Linked DNA regions of Homo sapiens: regions 1 and 2 are each linked to region 3. The links are contacts of gene promoters, found by promoter capture Hi-C in blood cells and fetal thymus (Javierre and others, 2016). All regions are on one chromosome and are shown on one strand. The core of a region is centred on a gene start or on the middle of the fragment in contact, and the rest is flanking DNA. Distances in the headings are between cores, read along the strand shown.

Region 1 (4,385 bases), core at 539-3,038, 870 kb before region 3:
CATCCTTCATTCTTTTTTTGGTACGGTGCCTGCCATGTCTAAATGCTCAATTAATGAAATTACAGTAATAACCCTCCTTCTGGCCTGGTGTTCTGGAAGCAGTGTGGGGTGGATGATGGGTCTGGAGTGGATTTTCCTAGGTCCCCAGTGGAAGTCGGAAGGTCACCGCAGTGCTAGTTGGAAGAGAAGGTGGAGAGGGACAAGTGGAGGTGAAGGTTGTGTGGAAGGCATACCGACAGGAGTGGGTTGAGAGAAAGAAAAGTTGAGGTTGGAATGGAGGGGGTCCCTAGGCTCAAGGAAAGTCTAGAGGTTTGGTTTTGTTTTGTGTGTGGTTTTTTTGGTGGTTTTATTTTTTGATTTTTTTTTTTTTTTTTTTTTGAGACGGGGTCTCAGTCTGTCATCCAGGCTGGAGTGCAGTGGCACGATCTTGGCTCACTGCAACCTCCCCACTCCCAGGTTCAAGCGATCCTCCCACCTCAGCCTCCTGAGTAGTTGGGACCACAGGCATGGGCCACTATGCCTGGTTAATTTTTTTGTATTTTTGGTAGAGACAGGGTTTCACCATGTTGGCCCAGCTGGTCTCTTAACTCCTGAACTCAGGCCATCCACCTACCTCAGCCTCCCAAAGTGTTGGGATTATAGGCATGAACCATCACACCCAGCCAAGTCTGGAGGTTTTTGTGAAGAGTTTCAATTTTGGGGTCAGACTGACTGTTTTATTAGAATTTTGGCTCTGCCACTGACCAGGTATGCACTTTTGGACAAATTCCTTAACCCTCTTTAGCCTCTTTTCTCATCTGTGAATGGGGGGGATAATGCTAACTACCTCTTAGATCATGTATTGTGAAGATGGACAAAGAGTCTCTGCTTGACCGAACTACAGTCAGGCTCCGGAACCTTCTTCTAGGCTCAGTTGTGCCCTTCCTTGTAAAATCTGCTTTCAGGAAGAACCCTGCTAAGTCAGTTTACCAAGAACCCTCCACCCTGGATATCTGATCAGCTTCCCCATCCGCCCTGTCCTGCCCAGCCCTGCCAGGGGATGTCTGACTTTCAAGAATCCCCCTTCCCCCTGATGTTTCCTCTTATAATTTTTCATTCCCTGCATCCCACCCTGGTCCTCGGTTATAAATCCCCACTTGTTCCTGCTGTATTCAGAGTTGAACCCAACCTTTCTCCCCGACTGCAGAATCCCATGGTAGGGCTTATACCTATTGCGATGGTTCCAAAGAGGGTCTTCTTTGCTGTGCTTTCACACGTGTCATGGAATAGTCTTTTTTCTTTAATAGGACAGAAAGTTTTAAAGCACCTAGGGCCTCAAAAGATGTGGATTTCCTCCCCACCCTAACCCCTAGAACCATCCAAGTACCATTCCTCCTGAAGCTGTCCACCCGCCAACACGTAGGTACTGCAGGCCTACTGCAGTCTATACTGGCTTGGGGAGTGTTTTTGCGGATCTTTAACACTGGGTGTGAAATCTACGTTGGGGGACACAACTACATTAGGATGGCACCTGGTGGGGGGGTCACACCCAGATACAATGTCTCCTGCGGCCCCTTGGGTGACCTGGTGTGATGAAAAGGGCTCCGCCCTGAAAGGCAGGTCTGGCTCTTCTGCGGGGCTGCGGGGATGGGGCGCGCCGGGGCAGTGTCGCCGGGGGTCGGGCTGGGGGCGCGACGCAGCGGCGCCGGGCGGGGGCGCCCTCGGCGCCGCAGCCGCCAGGTGGCACCACGGGCCCGGGGCCTGGGCGCGGGCAGCGGCGGCGGCGGCGGGCGAGGCAGGAAGGGGTTAAGGAGCTGGCGGAGCAGCAGCAGCCGCCGCCGCCGCCGCCGCCGCGGCTCTTCGGGGAAACCCGGCGCGGGGCGCGGGAGGGAGCGGCCGGGGCGGCGGGGCCGGGCCAATCGGGCGGCGGGCCCGGCGCGCGGAGCCAGCGACATGGAGGGGGGCGCGGCGCCCGGCCGCCCGTGACGCGCCGCCGCCCGGCCCGCTCTCGGCGAGCCCGAGCCGCCGCCGGCCCCGCGGCGGAGATGAGCAGGTCCGCGACGCTGCTGCTGTGCCTGCTGGGCTGCCACGTCTGGAAGGCGGTGACCAAGACGCTGCGGGAGCCCGGCGCCGGAGCCCAAGGTCAGTGGGCGGCGGCGGGGCCGGGGGCTTTGTGTCGCGCCGGGCCTGGCGCGGAGGCGGCGGCGGCGGCGGCGGCGGCGGGAGGGTCCCGGGCCGCGTGGTGGCGACGCAGCCCGAGCCGCATCGGGAGCCTCCGGGCCTGCAGCACCCGCAACGCGCTCCCGAGGGGGCGGCGCGGGCCGGCGACGCGGGGTGACCCGGGCGGAGGCTTCGGGGGCCGGGGATCGGGGGCTGGGTCGGGCGGGGGCGCGGGCAGCTCCAGCTGCTGTCGCCGCTGCGGCGGGGGCTCGTCTGGATGCGCCCGGGGGTCCCCTTTATGCCGCGCCTCGGACACGCGGCTCTGTCTCCCATGTCGCCGCGGACAGAGGGGCCGCCCAGGGCGCGCCGCCCGATCGCGCTCCCGGCTCCCCACGCCGGGCTCGGGTCTGGGAAGTCCCAGCTCCTGGGCTGCGCTGGGGCCTTTTGTTGTGGCGGGAGGGGGTGGCTGACGCCCCGGGGTGCCCCCTGTGTCCCGGGGCCCCGAGGTCCGCTGCCGCCACTAGCCACTAGCCTGCCGCAGTTTGGGAAAGTTTGGGGGGTTCTCTCCCCCTGCCTATCTGACGTCTCTTCCAGACCATAAGGGATTTGCTCAGCGGCCCATGAGTCTTCTCTGTAAGGGAAGAAAGAATTGAACTGGGAGGCCCTCATCGCTCACCAAAAAAAAAAAAAAAAAAAAGAAAAATCCTTTCCAGATCAGTTTGTCGCCAGCTCGTGCCTTTTGTCTCGTCTTTGGCCTCCACAAATCTGCTTTCCAGCCCTGGGAGTAACGTGGTCGCCTCTGAGAATGGCCACGAGCCTGTCTTTTGTTTTTAAAATCAGCGTTTTTTGAGGGGAGTCCCCCACACCCACCCTGAGGCTTGCTTGGCACATTTTTGTGGGGACAGCGTCGAGGACTCCTCTGTTGCTGGCGTTTTCAAAAGGGCCACTGAGGCCCGCAGATGAGCCTCTGCATTCACCCAGGGCACCGCTGCCTGGACTCTTGCCGGGGGCTCAGGTCTCTGCGAGGGAGCTCCCTGCAGCCCTGCAGAACCCCGGGATTCCGAGCCCGAGGCCTGTCCCCTCAGAAGGGTGTGTGTCCTGCAAAGTTGGCCCTGCAGGCCAAAGAAACGAGGAGTGCTGCATCCGAGGGTCTCCTTGCTGGAACCCCCTTTCCTCGGCTAACATGCTCAGGGTGCCTGGGAGCAGAGACGCCCGGGCTTCCACCACGATGTTGCTACGGGGAGGAAAGGCTCTGCCAACACTCTGTTGGGTTGAGTTTGTTGCCTACATGTTGAGTTGAAGGTTTTCATATTCTGGCACTTGCAGTATCATTTCCTGGTATATCTTAAATGCATTGCTGCTTCTATGGCCATGGTAGAATATGACCGTTATGAATTGTGTATAATTTTAGTAATGCATATCATGGAAGAGCGGACAGCTACAAAATACAAAAAGACCTATATGTCTCTTCGTGTAGGAAACGAATGTTTAGGACATTAGATCATCAGTGTTGCATTGCAGCTTCTTTTATTAATACCCTACTGCTTTTTTGAATCAGCTATTTTAGAGAATGATATTTGCACTTCAGCGAGGCCGTTAATTTTAAAGAGCAAGTTGAATTTTTCCTTTTGCACTTGAAATACCAATATATGGAAATATTAAATTCATGCACTTCTGAATTAGAGAAAGGAAGGCATGTCTTCAATATATATATATATATATATTCAATATATATATAACAGGTTTAGGTCTAAGACCACGTTTTACCCAGCTCTTGCTGCTAAAAATCCGCCTCTCAGGAATGGAATATTATGCGAAATGGGAGGGAAATGGTCAACATGAGAAGAGGTTTCTGCCATGGCTAGCAGTGGCTTAGTTTAGGGTATGGTTGGAGTGGGAGATCAAGTATCTTGGCATAGTTTACCCCTTGGATTACTTCCTTTGTTGTTATCTACTGTAAGGATGGCTTTTTAAAGCCTTGAGCCCAGGAACTCTTTCAGAAATCAGGTCTCACTACCTGGCATTTGGATTTTGAGCTAGCAGCATTTTTAAGGGAATGGACAATTTCTCCTTTGACATTAGAAGGTCAGTCCCAACTCACTGAGTTCTTCAAAGCATCTTAATGTTCACTTGCTGTAGTATGACGTAGTTTTAAAATTCATGTGTTCTCTGCTTTCCTGGATCATGTACACGATGAAGACAAATGCTGCATCTGATTTCACTTTGCATTTCCCACAGTGGGTTGT
Region 2 (4,194 bases), core at 717-3,216, 670 kb before region 3:
AAAGATTAATGCTGTAAAACATTTGTATTATATAATACTTCAATCCAGTACTGTACCGATGTACTTCAATCCAGTACTGTACCAACTTGTTTCCATTCTGGGGAACAGATGTTCCCTGTTTGTCATTGTTTTCTAGTGTTTCACTGGTTTTTGATGCCCTCATTTTATTTTTCCAGGATTATTTGTTTTCTTATTCTTTTTTAGAGCAGTTCTTAGTCAAAACTTCTTGAAAATTCAGATAAATATATGACTGCTGAGTTTCCTTTGCCTTAAGTTTTAAAAACTCTTTTAGAGAACCCTTCTGGCAGGTTAGAGTGGATGATTTGATTGATAGGCTTGCTCCTGGCCAGTTTCCTGTTGGTTACCCGAGCGGGCTGCGGGTTCTCCAACAATCCATGTTCACAGAGATGAGCTGCAGGAACCTCACTCATCTGTATTTGCTTCTATCCTAAAGTTTCACAGAGGTGACATGTGACATTTTGCCTCAGAAATAGTTGCCGTTGTTAAAGGCAATATTGTATTTCCTTTTGTGTTTTGACCCCATTTGCCCTTCTTACAGAATTTTAGTTGTCTCAATGCCAAACAGCTGACGGGCTTTGAAATCGCTCTGCAGTTTTCATCTTTTGATACTTCTAGCTCATTGCGTTTTAAAAACATAGTCTCCCTTGGGGAAAAAAGCCATAAAATGCTCCTAGTATCTTCTGCAAAAAAAGGACCCACACCAAAAAATTCAGGTGGCTCTTTAAAGTCTCATTTTCCTCACTGAGCGGGTTCTGATGATTATCTTTGCAAAACCACTGCGGAGACTTCCGGTGGCCTAGCAGCACATTTGAACAAGATCATCTCAGCAAAGCAAAGGACAGGACTGCTCTGTACAGAATGCAGTAGCAAATAAGAGAGGCTGAACTTCACCGGTCTTCTATTTGGCAGTACTACAGAATGCCTCCCTTCCCTCTTCTGAGAGAGACAGCGGACAATTTCAGCACAGAAGGCCGTGCACGTTTGCTTGGAAATCTAGGTCATGACCTTGACTTTGGGAAAGCCAGGGTAGCCTACCTGAAACTGTCCAATCCCCCAGCATCGTGGACACGTCCCCAAGTCCCTCAAGATGTCTGTTCTGGTCTGAGCCGTCCGTAGTAGTGTCCAGGGAAAGCAGGGGTAGCTCAAAAATTTCTGTCAAGAGTTTTAGTGCTGCAAGCCTGGTTGGGACAGGGCGGTGGAGGGCTGGAAATACTGTTTTTGACTTTGAATTTGATTTTATAATGTATTAGATGGATAGATAGATGCGAAATGGAATTGTTAACATGTATGTGGAGGGGCGGGAAGAGTTTCTGGAAAGCCCCATCCCTGAGTGCCTACTCCTGAGTGGGAAAAACCCCTGCACGGGCTGGGAGCGCTCCCTAATTCGTCCAGAAGTAAAATCGCATGGCCTGTGTTCCAAAAATGCCGCCACTCAGGATGTCAAGTCTGCACGTTTGCAGCTTTGAGAGCCGAGCCCCAGGCAGAGGCACCGCGCAGGCCTGGATGTACAGGACTCGGCCCTGTGCAGGGCTGGCCAGGGTGAGCAGGGTTGGAGCTGGCGGGGCGGGGAGGGGCGGGGCCATCTGGGAGGGGCTGCGGCGGTGGGCGGGGTTAGAGGGCGGGTTTGAAGCCGGCAGGGTGGGGAAAGGCGGGGCTGGAGGGGAGGGGTCTCAGAGGCGGGCGGGGTTAGAGAGCTGGATTGAAGCCGGCGGGACGGGGAGAGGCGGGGCTTGGTGGGGAGGGACGAAGAGGTGGGCGGGGTTCAAGCCCGTGGGGCAGGGCGGGGCCGGCGGGCAGGGCGGGGCCGGCGGGCTGGGCGCGGACGGTGAGGGGCGGGGATGGAGGGCGGGGCGGGACGGAGGGCGGGGAGGGGGCGGGACGGAGGGCGGGACGGGGCGCGGGCGGGGCGGGGCGGGGCGTAGCGCCCGGGCTCCGACTCCAAGCAGTACGGCGGGAGGCACTAGAGGGAGCTGCGGCCGCTCCGGCCCGGCCCCGAGCACCGCCTCCCCAGCCAGCGCCGCCGCGATGGCGGAGGACAGCGAGTCTGCGGCCAGCCAGCAGAGCCTGGAACTGGACGACCAGGACACGTGCGGGATAGACGGGGACAATGAGGAGGAGACGGAGCACGCCAAAGGGTAGGGGCGGCGCGCTGGCGCACCGGGCGCGACAGGGCGGGGACCGCGCGCGCCACGGTCTCCCGTTCGGGGGTGGCTCCCAGGACTGGGGGTTCTTCGGCCGCTCCGCCCCGCGATGGCTTCTCCGTGGCGCGGAGCCCATGGTGAGGTCCGGGGCGCGCGGCTCGCGGGAGAGTGCAGTGCGCGGGGAGGCGAGGCCCGGGGTGGGCGGGGAGGCTGGGGCCCGGGCGGGGAGACGCTACTGTCACTTGCCGCGCGCCCCCGGCCAGCCTCGCCCATCCCCGCCGGCGGCCTGGCCCAGGAGGCGCCTGTTGCCCTCGCCCGCGGGTGGCTCCGGTGGGCGCCGAGGAGAGGCGCTACGCCCTTCCCTTTGTGGCGGCCGCAGCCTGGGGTAGGAGGTCGCCCTCCTCTGCTCCCTGCCATCCTTGTTAAGTCCCTTCAGACTCCCTCTCCGCAGCCGCCACCCGAAAAGAATGGGCAAAGACGTGGGTGGAGCGGCGTGGAGGTGCCCCGATGGTGTCGGGGCCGCAGGCGGCGAACTGCGCAAAGTTCTGGCGCCGAGGGGGTCCCGGGCCCGGCCCCTGCTGGGGATACTGGGCTTTGCACCGCCTCGCCTGTCCCTAGAGCTCTTCAGAGCAGGGCCGATCCCCTGAACCGGGCTCCCGCTGACCTGGCCGTATCCTGTTTGCAAAGCTGGTATTTGATCTCCAAAACTCGATGCACCACGCATTTTCACACTTGATCGGATTTCTTAATCCTTTCCCTTTGCCCCCGAACCCTGCAGACTTGATTTGCTCTTCTGTTGGAGAAAAGGATTGCTTCAGGTGAAGGCCGGTGTTGATGCTCTCTTTTTAGAGGCAGTGGGTCATTTTAAATAAAAACTGGTGTCCTTTTAAAGTGCTGTTTACATTACCCTTTTACCCTATTGGATTCAAACTATGCGCTGGCACAGAGCGGTTCTTGCTACACCCTTAGAAGTGAGATTTTTCGAACCATGGTGAGTGATGGAGAAGTGGGTCAGCTTAAAAAACATGATAGGGAGGCCTGAGTCACAGATGGTTTACTCAGTTCGTAGAGAGATTCTTGAAATGATTGATCATTGAAAGTGTAAATCATTTGCATTCTACTTGTCTACTTTAAGATTTATTATAGAAAGGGACTTTTGACTGACCTCTAATTCATTATAAAATATTAACAAATGAAGAAAAAGAAAAGCTGACTATGTGCATCTCCCATTTGCAAGTTGTTTTTATCTTTGCCGTGAATACTTCAGTGGCGGCTGCAAGTATCGAATGTTCGAGTCTAGAATATTTTTTTTTTTAAAGAGAGGAAAGGAAATTGCATAGGAATCTGAACCTGAGCCCTGTTTATGCAGGGATAGAAACGTGTTTGTGATAGATAGCTAAATACAAATATGTTTTTGAAACGGTAGTTCTATTGCCAGAAATGGGCCCAGGTGCAGATGCAAGCTGATGGATTAGCTTCAGTACCTGTGTTTTCTTTCTGGAGAGACCCTGGACTTTTATCTTCTCTGCTGTAATTTCTGTTTATTGTTCCTCCTTTGATTGATATTCTAGGTTGGGGGCTTGATTAGGACTTCTTTGCTTACACTGTTGAGAATGCCCCTGGTACAAAGAATTCCTCATCTGTGTGCGCATTGATCTGAGCCTGTCCCCCGACACCTTTCAAGAAGCTAAAGTTCCCAGAGTAGCACCCAGAGGCATCTGTGCTGCCTTCGGAAGTTTTCAGTTTTGTATATCAGCACATTTTATATATTAGAAAGGTTAATCAAAATTTAGAGATGCCCCATGGACTGAAATGTTTTCACCAAGAGCAGATACCATGTTAATAGCTTCTAGTGGGAAAAGATTAACATAATGGATGTATTGTACTCTATTTAAATGTAAGGAGATTAGGAAAACTCCAAATGACTGCTCTCCTTGGATTGCCTGTTTGGATTTGAATTTAGACAATGTGTGCCAAATTTGGGGGAGTAAATGTGTTTTATTTGGCTCATGTACTGATGATATCGCAGTAG
Region 3 (4,240 bases), core at 915-3,414:
TTGAGCAGATGAATTTTGTGGTCAAGATTTGCTGAAAAATATATTTTTTCTCTTGTTTAGATATATCATTCCCTCAAAGAAAGGGAGTATTAACTCTGGGGTATTGATTTCCTTCTGAAAGGGACTTGGAGACCGTTGTCTTTCCACAGCCAAAAAATAAAAATAAATAAATCAAGGCTTGAATCCTTTCAAGAAATTCAAAGCAACTCCAGTTAGGCACTACAGATATTTAAGTAAATATCTGTATTTACTTAATATTTTACTTAAAAGTAAAACGTATCTACTCTGGCAGCTGGTAAGTGGTTATTTTGCATTGCAAATTTACCACAAAGCTTGTTACTTACCTATGTGCTGGAAGATGCCACCCTGCAATCTCAGAACACTGCCCATGGGTTCTCTCTGTGGACACGGTGATGGGTCTGCATGGAAGAGACCTCTTTCATATTGTTGCAGGGCCCACAAAGACTTTTAGCCCCCTAAAGAGGCAGGAGCCCAGTGAGAGTGAACCCACAAGGCAAGTCATGCCAATAAATCCAGCCAAGTGGAAACCACTAGACAGACGGGAAGATCACGGACAAGTCTGATTCCCATAAAATGGAATGTACATAATTTCCCTTTTTCTTCCACAATTTATTTTTCAGGCAAGGGAATTTAATATATAATAGGGACTTGGCTGATCTCAAAGGCAGGCTATTGCTGCTGCTCAAAGGCAGGCTAGCTCTCATTGACAAGCTATTAGTCTTAAAGATAAATCTCTCCTCTCATCCTCAGCACAACTCATTGACTTGCCCTCCCTCTCTTCCCTCCTCTCTTTCTTCTCTTCTTCTTACAAACAAAACAAAACAAAAGAGAGGTCTTCTTACAAACAAAACAAAAGAGAGGTCTTAACTGCTGATCATAACTGGTTATTCAGCCGGGAGGGTTCTTTTCCATAGTCATGCAAACTAGAGGCACTAATGAATCAATTTTCTGTCTTGGAGGTTACTGCTTGTATTACTTTATTTTCCATCATGGCTTATGTTGCCTATACAGGATCCCCAGGTACCTCCCCAAAGCATCATATTCCTCCAGGCTGGGCTGGCCCTTTGGGTAGCACTGTATGTACTTTCCTCCTACCTGATTTTGCACGGGATGGCTTTGGCTCTAGGACATTGTCACCCCTCTCTCCCTGGGACAGAACAATGAGGCAAGACAGACTGGGAGGCCCCAGGGAAGTGAGGTGGAGGAACAGGAACCCCAGGCAGCAAGGGTGATGAGAGTCAAGAGGAGACCCACCTTTTCCCATTGTCTCACCTCCCTAGGACATGCTCACTTTATTTTGTGTCAACTGACACACATCGAGTACCTGCCTTGTGCTAGTCGGCATGAGAATAAAAAGTGAGTAGGGCAGAGTCTCCATCCATGGGCTGATTCTTGGGAGGCCCCAAGGTAAGCAAGTGTTCCCAGCATGCCAGGATCCTCCTTGTATAGTGACCTTGACCAAAGTGGGTACAAAATGTGCTGTTGGGGCCACGAAAGAGCAATTTACATTTTCCTAAGAGTTCCAGGGAAGGTCAGATCCAGTTGTCACAAGCAAGTACCGCGGTCTTGTCTATGTCACCATATGGACATACTTAGAGGCTCCACACACACACATTGCTTTTTACAAGAGCAAAATGCAGAGAACGAAGGCAATAGCCAACTCTCAGTTATCGGTGGCTTCTTTTCTCCAACTGTTGGACTAATTCTCACTACTGACAGCAAGAAGCCAGGGGGCATCTGGGGCTAGTCTCCTTCAATAGAATGGCTGTGTGTGTGGGAGCAGGGGTGGGGGGGGTGTCGGGGAGGGGGCTGCTTTCCATAACCAAGGTCAGATGGAATTCACATTGGATGTTGGCTTGGATTTTGGGGGAAAAATTGAGTGGGCAATAGAATAAGGAGCACAGGCTCTGGAATCAGAGAACTTGGATTTGAATCATAGTCCCATCGCTTTCTAGCTTTGTGATTCTGGGAAAATAAATGCTTTGGCCCCAGTTTTCTCATCTGTAAAATGGGCGTAACTGACCAGGCATGGTTGCTCACATCTGTAATCCCAGTACTTTGGGAGGCCGAGGCAGGTGGATCACTTGAGGTCAGGAGTTCGAAGCCAGCCTGGCCAACAGGGCGAAACCCCGTCTCTACTAAAAATACAACAAGTAGCCAGGCATAATGTTACGCGCCTGTAATCCCAGCTATTCAGGAGGCTGAGACACAAGAATCACTTGAACCCAGGGGGCAGAGGTTGTAGTGAGCCGAGATTGCACCATTTAACTCCAGCCTGGACAACAGGGCAAGACTCCATCTCAAAAAATAAAAAGTAAAATAAAATGGGCATAATGATTTTGTTTGCCTCATTGAGCCGTTGTAAGAGTTAAAGGAGTAGGGTAGGTATAGTGGCTTATGCCTGCAATCTCAGCACTTTGGGAGGCCGAGATGAGAGGATCACTTGAGGCCAGGAGTTCCAGACCAGCCTGGGCAACATAGTGAGACCCTGTCTCTACAAAAAATAAAAAAAATTTAGCCAGATGTGGTGGCACCGGCCTGTAGTCCCAGCCACTTGAGAGGATGAGGTGGGAGGATTGCTTGAGTCCAGGAAGTTGAGGCTGCAGTGAGCCACGATTGCACCACTGCACTCCAGCCTGGGTGTCAGAGGGAGATGTCCTGTTGAAAAAAAAAAGTGTTAGAGGAGATTCATGTAAAGTGCTTAGTAAACATTAGTGATGATGATGATTGCTGTTCTTTTGTTTATATTTGTTATCTACACTTATTTATGAAGTTCAGGAAGTCCAGGCTCAGTCACAGGCTCTGGGGTGGGGCAGAGTGGCTGCAGTGTTGCTCACACACCCAACGTGCAGGGCCAGGGCCATCCTAGATACAACCCCTCACCACGTGGTATGATTTGAAGCCATAACGTCCAGCTGCCCTCAAATGCCTCTTCTAAAATCCTACCGTGTTAACCTTTTTTTTTTTTTGAGACGGAGTTTCACTCTTGTTGCCCAGGCTGGAGTGCAATGGCACGATCTCAGCTCACTGCAACCTCTGCCTCCCAGGTTCAAGCGATTCTCCTGCCTCAGCCTCCCAAGTAGCTGGGATTACAGGCATGTGCCACCATGCCACCATGCCTGGCTAATTTTTGTATTTTTAGTAGATACGGGGTTTCACCTTATTGGCCAGGCTGGTCTCAAACTTCTGACCTCAGGTGATCCACCCCCCTGGGCCTCCCAAAGTGCTGGGATTACAGGCATAAGCCACTGCGCCCAGCCCTGCATTAACCTTTAAAGTCCCAACCACTGTGTAGCGGTAAAATTTCAACATGCTGTTGTCTGGGGAAAGACAACGCATTTACCCTTTTCTACCTGGCAGAGATACCTTAATACATCCTCAAGCATTGGGTACAGCTGGGACAACCCCTTTTGGCTTGGCAACGGAGAAGTGGGACCAGGCGGTGGGGAAGCCAGTCAGGAGCCATGAGGAGCCTGGGACAGGAGGATGGTCAGTGACAGACAGTGTGGGGGTGAAGCATGTGGGGTTGGAGGCTGGGACATAAGGCCTGGCGCATAGTAGGCCCTCAATAAATATTTGCCATTAAATGACAGGGCCTGGAAAGAGGGAGCTGGGCACTGGCAGGCGTCGCTTGTCATCAGTGTGTCCAGGGCTGGCCCAGCCCAGCCAAAGTCAAGGTGCCTTCCCGGCGAGGAAGGCAGATGGTAGGTTTTCTCGGCCCGTTCTAAGGCCCGGAGGAAGCCTTTGTCCCTGCAGCAAGAACGCCTAATTCAGCCGTTTCTAGGAATCAAGGCTTCTCCTAAGTGTCTTCTTTTATGACTGGGCAAGATAGTCAATTGCTGGCCTCCAGAGAGGAAGGAAAACCTTTCCATGCCTGCTCTTGGCAATAGCAAGGTTGGTGACGTTAGGCTTCGGCAACTCGGGACTTAATCCTTTCTGCTAAGTATCTGCAATACTGAGAGGTTGGGAAGCTTACATGAAATAATAAAACCCAGCCCTAGCCGAGGGCCAGGGCTATACAGACCCTACCAAGGGATGCGGCCGCTACTTTCACCGTCCTTAAAATGATGCGCGTTGCTGCCATCTAGTGTGCACCAGCAGAACGTCTTAGTTTTTAAAATTAGAATCGCAATTCATAGGCTGGGCACAGTGGCTCATGCCTGTAATCCCAGCACTTTGGGAGGCTAAGGCGGGAGGGTTGCTTGAGGCCAGAAGTTCG

The links. The method cuts DNA at HindIII sites, captures the fragments that hold promoters and counts their contacts. A CHiCAGO score of 5 or more calls a contact.
Region 1: the fragment with the promoter of FAM171A1 here is called in contact with a fragment that was not itself captured in region 3 in 1 of 17 cell types (fetal thymus); the score reaches 8.6 in fetal thymus.
Region 2: the fragment with the promoter of NMT2 here is called in contact with a fragment that was not itself captured in region 3 in 1 of 17 cell types (total B cells); the score reaches 5.3 in total B cells.

What each region holds. Positions count from the first base shown.
Region 1 is chr10:15,368,692-15,373,076 of GRCh38, reverse strand. It overlaps FAM171A1 (family with sequence similarity 171 member A1), which reads left to right and starts at 1,788. Exons shown (of 8, transcript NM_001010924.2): 1 at 1,788-2,121. The coding sequence starts at 2,025. RefSeq lists silencers at 1,742-1,791, 1,802-2,031. The HindIII fragment of the contact is 10,313 bases long and covers 1-4,385 here.
Region 2 is chr10:15,166,465-15,170,658 of GRCh38, reverse strand. It overlaps NMT2 (N-myristoyltransferase 2), which reads left to right and starts at 1,966. Exons shown (of 12, transcript NM_004808.3): 1 at 1,966-2,156. The coding sequence starts at 2,047. RefSeq lists silencers at 1,767-2,596, 4,123-4,194. The HindIII fragment of the contact is 10,106 bases long and covers 1-4,194 here.
Region 3 is chr10:14,498,970-14,503,209 of GRCh38, reverse strand. No RefSeq gene overlaps it. Among named protein-coding and RNA genes, the nearest start is that of MIR1265, 65 kb to the right of the region's middle. The HindIII fragment of the contact is 3,660 bases long and covers 335-3,994 here.